Regions from separate parts of the Homo sapiens genome. Here all the other regions are linked to region 3. Evidence: promoter capture Hi-C in 16 types of primary human blood cells and fetal thymus (Javierre and others, 2016). All regions are on one chromosome and are shown on one strand. The core of a region is centred on a gene start or on the middle of the fragment in contact, and the rest is flanking DNA. Distances in the headings are between cores, read along the strand shown.

The links. Contacts are between HindIII fragments. The CHiCAGO score rates a contact against its expected background, and 5 or more counts as called.
Region 1: the fragment with the promoter of AVPR2 here is called in contact with the fragment with the promoter of BCAP31 in region 3 in 15 of 17 cell types (non-activated CD4 T cells, M1 macrophages, naive B cells and 12 more); the score reaches 10.6 in non-activated CD4 T cells.
Region 2: a fragment that was not itself captured here is called in contact with the fragment with the promoter of BCAP31 in region 3 in 3 of 17 cell types (total B cells, activated CD4 T cells and M1 macrophages); the score reaches 5.2 in total B cells.

What each region holds. Positions count from the first base shown.
Region 1 is chrX:153,903,204-153,905,922 of GRCh38, reverse strand. AVPR2 (arginine vasopressin receptor 2) reads right to left here and starts at 1,250. Exons shown (of 4, transcript NM_000054.7): 1 at 1,152-1,250; 2 at 753-949; 3 at 1-391. The coding sequence starts at 777. The HindIII fragment of the contact is 5,945 bases long and covers 1-2,719 here.
Region 2 is chrX:153,887,124-153,890,299 of GRCh38, reverse strand. L1CAM-AS1 (L1CAM antisense RNA 1) reads right to left here. Exons shown (of 7, transcript NR_130768.1): 7 at 1,310-1,803. Among named protein-coding and RNA genes, the nearest start is that of L1CAM, 2.5 kb to the right of the region's middle. The HindIII fragment of the contact is 2,115 bases long and covers 863-2,977 here.
Region 3 is chrX:153,722,457-153,725,636 of GRCh38, reverse strand. BCAP31 (B cell receptor associated protein 31) reads left to right here and starts at 1,250. Exons shown (of 8, transcript NM_001256447.2): 1 at 1,250-1,303; 2 at 2,349-2,484. The coding sequence starts at 2,393. ABCD1 (ATP binding cassette subfamily D member 1) reads right to left here and starts at 781. Exons shown (of 10, transcript NM_000033.4): 1 at 1-781. The coding sequence starts at 370. RefSeq lists an enhancer at 1-161 and silencers at 622-1,581, 1,792-1,971. The HindIII fragment of the contact is 9,880 bases long and covers 1-3,180 here.

The DNA of each region.
Region 1 (2,719 bases), core at 1-2,500, 180 kb before region 3:
CGGTGGCGGTCCAGCGTCATGGCCAGGATCATGTAGGAGGAGGCATACATGCCCACCATCTGCAGATACTTCACGGCCCGACACAGGGCATCTGGCCCACGGAAGCGGTCGGTGGCCTTCCAGGCCAGCTGGGGCAGCACTTGGAACAGAGCCACGGCCAGGTCGGCCAGGCACAAGTGGCCAATGAAGACGTGTATGGGTGCCCAGTGGCCCCGCCGGCCCCGCCGAGCTAGGGCCGCCAGCACCAGGCCATTGCTCAGGGCCACAGCCACAAAGACTATGGAGAGCAGCGCCAGCTCCGCCCGGGCTAGCAGCGGGTCCCGGGTGTCCAGTGGCCTCTCCTGGCTGCTGTTGCTGGGCAGGCTGGGCAGAGAGGGATGCCCAGGCACAGCTGGGAAGGAGTCGGGAAGAGGGCCTGGTTAGAGAGGGTGCTGTGCAGGGGGACTCAGGCCTGCCTCCCGTGCCCCCATCCGGACACCCACTTCCTGGCTCCTAGCAGAGGGGACTCCAGGAAAGCCATGTTATGAGGGATACACACCCCAGGCTCATGCAGTCCAGAAGGAAGGGCAGCCCCAGCCCCAGCCCCAGCCCCAGCCCTGGCGGGGAAGTGGGGCTGTGCTCCCCTCCCCACTCATTGGCAGCCTGGAGAGACACACCCAGAGGTGAGGGTGAAGGAGGTCTTTAGAAAGAGGGGCTTCCCTGAATCGTCAAACCCACTCTGCCCACCGGACTCATGGAGGGGCAAGCCTTACCGGAAGTGGTGGACGCCATGAGCATGGTGGGGCTGGGGCAGGTGTTCTGAGGGCCTGGAGGTGATGTGCGGACTCAGCCTCTGCCTGAGGAGCAAGTTCAATGGCCCAGGGTCTCTGGACTGGAGCCCTTATAGAGATGCCAGCATGGCAGATGCCTGTTGGCGTGTGTGCACGTGTCGGTGGCAGTATGGCCAGTCCTGGGCAGGGAAGATTGAGAGGGATGGTCAGACAGACGGATGCACAGAACCCAGGATCCCCCAGGCAGCCCATGAGTCCCGGGTTTGGGAGTGGGCACCCCAGACAGACACGCAGAACTCCCCTGCCCCAACCGAGGCCGAGAGAGGCCACCATCCGAGGGCTGGGGACTGGGCAGGGGGGCAGGCAGGCGCAGCCCCTTACCTGGCTGGGCTCCTGGGCAGCTGGGCGGTGGCGTGAAGGTGGCTGGGTGCTCAGATCTGCTCTCCATCGGCTGCCCTGCCCTGGCCCAGCCCAGCCTCTGGGAGTGACCTGGCCAGGAGGGGACTTCCTCCCCCTCCCCCTTTCCCCCAGGCCTCCCCTGGCCTCCTGTTTCCCTTCCTTTCCCCAGGGCCTCCCTGGTCCCGGCCCAGGACTCCCTCCTCCCACTGCCATAGCCTCCACGCCCACCCTCACCCTACCACGCCCCCCTGGTTGGATTGTCTGGGTTGGCAGTGCTCTGGGAGGTCACTTAGTTCAGCATTCCCATTTTATAAGTGGGGAAACTGAGGCCAGAGAGCGGTGGGTCTGGCCCAGGACTGCGCTGCTTTTTCATGGGAGCTTCACGCCCCCTTCCCAAGTTGGGGTCCTCCTGCTCCTCGCTGGGCCCAGGCAAGGAAGGGGTGAAAACACTTTCGCTGGGCCCCTCCCAGGCCCACGCAGGCCCCTCCTCCTCCCCAGTTAGGGCCCAGTTGGCCGGAGACGAGGGACAGGAAAGGGAGGAGTGGGGCAGGGGCCAAGCCAGGCTTCACGAACCCCTGTGAGATCCAGGGACACCCCCACCCTCTTCCTCCTGCCCCACCTGCAACTACCTGTCCTAGGAAGAGGGGCTGGGGACCTCCGTGTGCTCACGGGCTCCCTCCCACCACACACAACCTCACATGATACAGCCACACAGCCACAAACACACAACACAGAGACGCTCGCTCATGTTCTTGAACATACCATGAGTATGGACGCACCTTCCCTGTACCTGAGCCCTCCTCCTCCCTCCCCCAACACCTCTCTCCTTCCCCTGTCCCCACACCCCCTCCAGCCCCCATCCCAGTAGTTCTCTTTCCACTCCCCCCGCACCCAGGCCTGGCTTGGCTCAGCCGAGGCCAGCCCAGCCCAGCCCAGCCCAAGGCAGCTGCTTTCTTCCTGTTTGTCTGTCTTCTCTGTTGCCTGTGAAGCCAGAGACCAAAACAGCCTCACGGACCAGGCCCAAGTCCGGCCCGCGGCCAAGGCCTCCTCTTCCTGCCCAGAGAGCCTGGCAGCACCCTGGCCCCTCCCGGCCCTGTTAGGGTGGTGGGAACACAGGGTGGGCATTTTCCAGAGACAGCGCACACACCACACCACATACATACATGCACACAGCCACACGCCACACACACATGCACCCACCACACACCCATACGCCACACCACACACACACCACACCATGCACACATATATTACACACCACACACATGCACACATCACACACTCCCATACGCCACACACCCACACATGTACCCACCACACAGCCATACACACCACATACGCACAGCCAACACCACACACGCACACACCCGCAGCACACACAGGTGCACATCACACCCCGCATCTTTGCCATGTTTTTGCAGAGCCCCTTGGGGGCAGGCTGCAGAGTGCTGGCACCCCAGGCCTGACGCTTCAGCTGCATCTCCTCAGCGCATGCACATCCTCATGCTGTCCCCAATAACCGCATGCTGTCACTAATCTAGGAGCATAGA
Region 2 (3,176 bases), core at 671-3,170, 160 kb before region 3:
AAATGGACCAATCAGCACTCTGTAAAATGGACTAATCAGCAGGACATGGGAGGGGACAAATAAGGGAATAAAAGCTGGCCCCCCCCCGCCCCCCACAAGCAACGGCAACCTGCTTGGGTCCTCTTCCATGCTGTGGAAGCTTTGTTCTTTCACTCTTCACAATACATCTTGCTGCTGCTCACACTTTGGGTCTGTGCCACCTTTAAGAGCTGTAACACTCACCGCGAAGGTCCGCGGCTTCATTCTTGAAGTCAGCGAGACCAAGAACCCACTGGAAGGAACCAACTCCAGACACACCTTCACTGATACAATGTGGGGGTGAGGCCAGGTGCAGTGACTCACTCCTGTAATCCTAGCACTTTGTGAGGCCAAGGCAGTGGATCACCACTTGAGCCCAGGAGTTCAAGACCAGTCTGGACAACATAGTGAGACCTCACCTCTACCAAAAAAGAAAAAAAAATTAATCAAGTGTGGTGGTGGCACATCTGTTGTCCCAGTACTTGGGAGGCTGTGGTGGGAGGATCACTTGAGCCCAGGAGGTCGAGGTTGCAGTGAGCCATGATCACACCACTGCACTCCAGCCTAGGGAACAGAGTGAGACCCTGTCTCAAAGTAATAACAACACTAATAAAAAATAATAAAGTGGAGGTGGGGGAGAGAGATGGGGAAAGCAGGACAAATAGAAAGCAAATACTCACCTGGCGTGACTACATCCAGAGATAGCAGCAGTCATCACCGTGTGACCAGCTGACCTGCACAGTTCAAAGACAAAGGCAGGTTCAACATCAATCTACCACTTGACTGAACAATCCACTCCTAAGCGGTTACCTTAGAGAAATGAAGACACACATTTACACAAGCTTGCATATAAATGTTTAGAGCTGCTCCATCATAATCACACAAAGCTGGAAACTACCCAAGTGTCCTTCAGTGAGTGAATGGCTGAACAAACCCTGATCCAACCAAACAATGGAATACTACTCGGCAATCAAAAGGAAATATACTGCTCTCTCTCGCCCGCATGCTCTCTCTCTCTCTCTCTCACACACACACACAAACACACACACCAACATGGATGAAGCTCAAAAAGTATGCTGCGTGAGTGTGAAAGAAGCCAGACAAAAGAATATATACGGTATGATTCCATTTATAATAAAATTTAGAAAAGACAGAAATCAGATCAGTGGTGGCCAAGGGCAGGGGGTGGTGGGAGTGGTTGGCTGCACACAACATTCACCAAAACTCCTTGAACTGTAAACCTCAAAAGGATGAATTTTACTGTATGTAAATTATACTCCAATAAAGTTGATTTTTTTTTTTTTTTTTTTGAGACAGGGTCTCACTCTGTCACCCAGGCTGGAGTGTAGTGGTGTGATCATGGCTCACTGTAGCCTCAACCTCTTGGGCTCCAGCGATCCTCCCACCTCAGCCTCCTGAGTAGTTGGGACTACAGACATGCACCACCATGCCTAATTTTAAAATTTTTTTTGTAGAGACGTGGTCTCGCTGTGTTGCCCAGGCAGGTCTCAAAGCTGATTTTTAAAAAGACAAGAATTGTTAGACAGAATCAAACCAAACCAAAACCCAACTATGTGCTGTTTCCAAGCGCTACACCTGAGATATGAAGACACAGAAAGATTGAAAGGAGAACAGAGAAAGACACGTCTGGCTGAGCCCACCCCGCCTGCCTGCTGGCACTTCCTTACTGCCCCACTGTCGTCTGTGGCTTCTGCGTCTTCTGCATGCTCATCACAGGGTCAGAGTCTGGGGCTTCCCTTGTCCAGTCCACTGTGTCTATGAGGGCTGGGTCACAGGGAGCAGGGCTGTGAGAAGCACTTGACGTTGAAGGGAAAGAGACAGTCATCTGTCTACTTGGTGTCCCCCTAACCTCCAACAGCAAGCACATGGCAGTGGGGGGGTGGCTTGCCTCTTGTTCAGGGCCAGTCCCTCCTGCTTCTCCTGGGACTTGCTCTGCCCTTGGTCTTCTGTCACTCTTGCTCTTGCTCCCATTGGCTCCTCCACTTCATTACATGGAAGTGAGAATGGGCATCGTGGTCAAGCAGAAGGGAATTCAAGTCCGAGTTCTGCCATTTACCTTCTGGGCTATCTTGGGTGGGTCATTTGACCCCTCTGAACCTTGGTTTCCTCATCTGTGAAATGGGGGCACTGATAGTGCCAATTTCTTCCTGGTTGCATGACTGCCCCTCTCTGGACCTTGGGTACCTCACTGGGAGAGTGAGGATAATAACAGCACCATCATCTGGGGTGTGTGTGTGGATGCAATGAGCCAGTGGAGAGAAAGAGACCTTCCTAACTGTGCTTGCTGGACCCAGCCTTGAGCTCTGTGGGCTTTGGTTTTCTCATCTGTAACGTGGGGCGAATGCTTCAACAGACCTCCCCAGGTTGGTGTGCAATTTAAATGTGCAGGAAATGTAACGATGGCAGGTCCATGGCTGTGCTCAGGAAATGTGATGTCGTGTAATCCTAGTAATGAATTTTTTGTTACCATAAATGGACCCATCACTACACATTAGCAGGTGCGTATAAACGGGCTCTATTCCCTGCTTACTTCACCATCCTGATGGGCATCAAACCCTAGATTAGGTAAAGGATTTGCAGAAGTTGGGGCTTGGAGGAAAGGCTGGGAACGTAGGGAGTGAGTGGAGGCAGCAACTGGAAAGGAGAGAGGCCTATCAGAGTTCAGATCAGCAAAGGCAGGAAGCTGACCACAGCTCAGTGCCTCATGGAAAGTACGCCCTCTTGGCCCAGCTCATGAGCCTGCTGGCCTCGTGACCCAGGCGGGCTCAGTTTCCTCTGCTGTCACCTGAAGATGCCCTGCAAGTGCCCCCACTCTGGAAGCAGTCTCCCTAGCCGTCCGTCTTCACTCAGGTGCCTAGTCTTGTCCATTCTCCTCCTAAAGGCTGGGCAAACATGGCATCCAGACCCTCTCTGAGCACAGATGGGTCCACCCCAAGCTTCCCATTCCAGGGGAACTGAAGCTGGCACTATGGGGGTGGGGCATCCAAGCCAGGATGCCAGGGCTGCTCCCATGTGGGCCCTCCAGGGCCCCACACCACTTGGGGAGTCTTGTGAGACTGAGTCGAGGGCCCCTGGAATGCTTCACTGGGCAACAGGCATGCCCATAAAAATACCGTGGCCGCCAGATCTGCAATCTG
Region 3 (3,180 bases), core at 1-2,500:
GGACGATGCAGCGGGCCAGCCTTCCGTCCAGGCGGGCCACATACACCGACAGGAAGGTGCGGCTCACCAAGGCGGCCGAGTGCAGGGCCAGCAGCCCCGTCTCCCGGCACAGGACCCGGGGGAACAGCAGCCGCAGGAGCCACAGGAGCCGCTGCAGGAATACCCGGTTCATGCCAGCTTTGGCCGCCGCGACCCCGGAGGCCTCCTGCGTGGGCTCCCCGGCGGGCGCCTGAAGACCCCTGGCCGGGGCCAGGCACTGGCGCACCAAGGGGTAGACTTTGTGGGCTCCATAGGCCGCGAGGGCCAGGAGCACGGCCGTGCGCTTCAGCGTGTTCCCCCGCCAGGGCCGGGGCCTGGAGAGCACCGGCATGTCACCTGGGCTGGCTGCCGCGTAGGGACTGGGGCTGGTGCCTGGGGCAGCAGTTGAGGCAGGTGGCTGGAAGGATTGTTGCTCTGACCCTGGGCCTGTTGTCTAGGCAACTGGAAACCTTGCGATGGCCCCTGAGACTGTCGCTTTAGGCCCCCGGGGTGGTGCTGGGGCCCCTGGTGCGGTGGGCTCAGGGCCCTCCAGGGTCGCGGCCTCTTCGGGCAGCCCAAGTGGAGGAACTTGGCTCTCCTGTCCTGTCAGTGCCCTGGCCCCTGAGGTCAGGGCCTTGAGAGGTCTCGGGCAGAGGGGGCGTCTCTTCCTCTCCACCTTCTCCTCCTCCTCCTCCCCCGGTGGCGCCCCTCCCCGGGGCACCAGGCGCGTCCGTCCGCTCCGCAGCCTGGCTGAAGCGACAGTGACTCCTCCACCGGCCCAGAATCCCCACCCACTCTTCCCCAGGGGCGAGTCGGGGGAAGGGGAGGAGGCGGAGGAGGGGCGAGGGGCGGAGTCCGGGCGCGGGAGCCCCACCCTGTTCTCGCCCCTCGGCGGGGCCCGCCCACACCCCCACCTCCCGTTCTCGCCCCTCGGCGGGGCCCCTCCCGCACCACAGAGACGTGGGACGGCCGCGCGGACTAGAGAAGCGGCCCTCGCCGGCCCGACAAAGCCCCGCCCCGCCCCGCCCGCGTGCTCGCTCCACCCCGCCCTGCTCGCCCGGAGCCCGAGGCGCCTCTTCCTCTCCCGCTCGGAGCGCCGGCCCTCCGCTCCGGGGCGGGGTGGGAAGCGGAGGTGGGCGGAGCCTCCGGGGCCTCGCGAGGGCTGGTGGGCGGTGCCCGGCGGGCGCTTCCGGTTTCCGGCCGCGGTATGAGGGGCGGGGCCGGGGCTGCTGTGGGAGAGTTCTGTTGCTGCGGCGGGGCCTGCACGTTGACTGTGGGAAACTCGGTGAGCGGGCTCCGCGCGCCGGGCTGGGCTCCGGGACCGCGGAGGCTCCCCGGCCCATCGACGAGGGAGAGAGGCGAGCGGCGCGGGGAGGCCCGGGGGCCGGGGAATCTCGGGGCCCGCAGCCTACCTGCGTGTGAGAGGCAGGGGCGAGGGGAAACCGGGCGGCGCCTCTAGAAGCTGGTCTCGGGGGCGGGGCGGGGGGCGGTGAAGCCCCACCTGGAGGAGCGGCCGGGATGGGCCTCCGGGACGGTGTGCCAGGCCGGGGCCAAGTCGGAGGCCCCTCGCTCTGGGTGGGCGCTGGGGCCCGCGAGGGCTACTGTAAGGACCCCTGGCTTCTGAGGATACTGCGTCTAGAACTTTCTCCGTATGGGGCCTTGAGGTGCTTGGTCGAGACCTGCCTTTGCGCTTGGTCCCGAATCCTGCCCTCTAGGAGTCGCTCTTGCGGGCCTCCAGCCCACCGGAGGCGAAGCGGCCCCGGGCGGAAGGCCGCTGGATCCTCGAGGGAGGTGCCGGTTTCTCTCCGCGGGCGCCGTGGGGACGGTGGGAGGCGGGGGCGTCGGCAGCGCTTGGACTAGGTGCGGCCTTGGGCCTGCCTGGTAGCGGGGATTTGGGCCCGCAGAGCGCCCGCCTCTGCGGCTGAGTTCTGCCTGGCGGGGAAGGGAGCGCCCGATGGGTGCCGAGGCGTCCTCCTCTTGGTGCCCTGGCACTGCTCTTCCCGAAGAACGCCTTTCAGTTAAACGGGCGTCGGAAATCTCGGGCTTCCTGGGGCAGGGATCGTCGGGAGAGGCCGCTCTGGACGTGTTGACACACGTGCTGGAGGGGGCAGGTAATTGACCAGCGAACGGAAGTTTGTGGGGCCTGTGAACGCTGCTGGCCAAGAGGCCCTGCCGAGTGGAGCCCTGCTTCCGCCAGCGCATCAGAGACTTTGAAGCAAAGTGCAGGGGGTCAGGGTGGAGAGTGGCGGCCCCAGCCTCGCAGGGTAACTGAACTGGATGTTCTTGGCTGCCCAGCGCTTACAAGTCCCGTACCTTTTGTGCCCTGCCAGGAAACAAGCTCACATCTTCCTGTGGGAAACCTTCTAGCAACAGGATGAGTCTGCAGTGGACTGCAGTTGCCACCTTCCTCTATGCGGAGGTCTTTGTTGTGTTGCTTCTCTGCATTCCCTTCATTTCTCCTAAAAGGTATGGCCTATGGAGCAAGCAGGCGAGTTAGGCAGGAGGGTGCCTGTGCCCTAGCCCTGGGACTGGTGTGTGCAGCTGGTGGACCCTGGAATTGGGACCCGATGGAACAGGTAGAACCTGTCTGGGGTGGGGGTGGCAGGGGTTGTGTTTGTTATTGCCAACCCTTCCCAGGGTTCTGCTTCGTCATGACTTGCTCAGTTCCTTTTCCTGTGTCCCCTGCCTTCTGGTCTTCAGAATGCCCCCGAGAGGCAGGAAGATCTATGTTACAGTTCTGGAAATGATGCCCTCCCACCCACTCTTGGTCCACGGGGTGCTGGGATGGTAGCGTGGGATTCGGAAGACTTGCACCACTGGGTCACGTTGTTGCTGATTTGGTGACTCTTGTCCTCCTAACTAGTCTCACTGGTATTGCGCAGTGGCTGCATGAACATTACTCAGCCTGTGGAGGATGAAGCCATATTCCCTTTTAATGAACAGAGGACCTGTTAAAAGTGAATTGGAGATTAATTTTAATTATGTATAATACCTGAACACATCCCTATTTAAATTACGATATTACAAATAAGGCCAAATCTCCACAGGTATTTTTAAAAGCCGTTTTTTCGTGAAAAATTATCTTTGATGTGATACCATAGAAAGTATGCAGTGCTGTCTGAGGAGGATTCTTGTAGAAAACCACACCTTCGTACAGTTGAC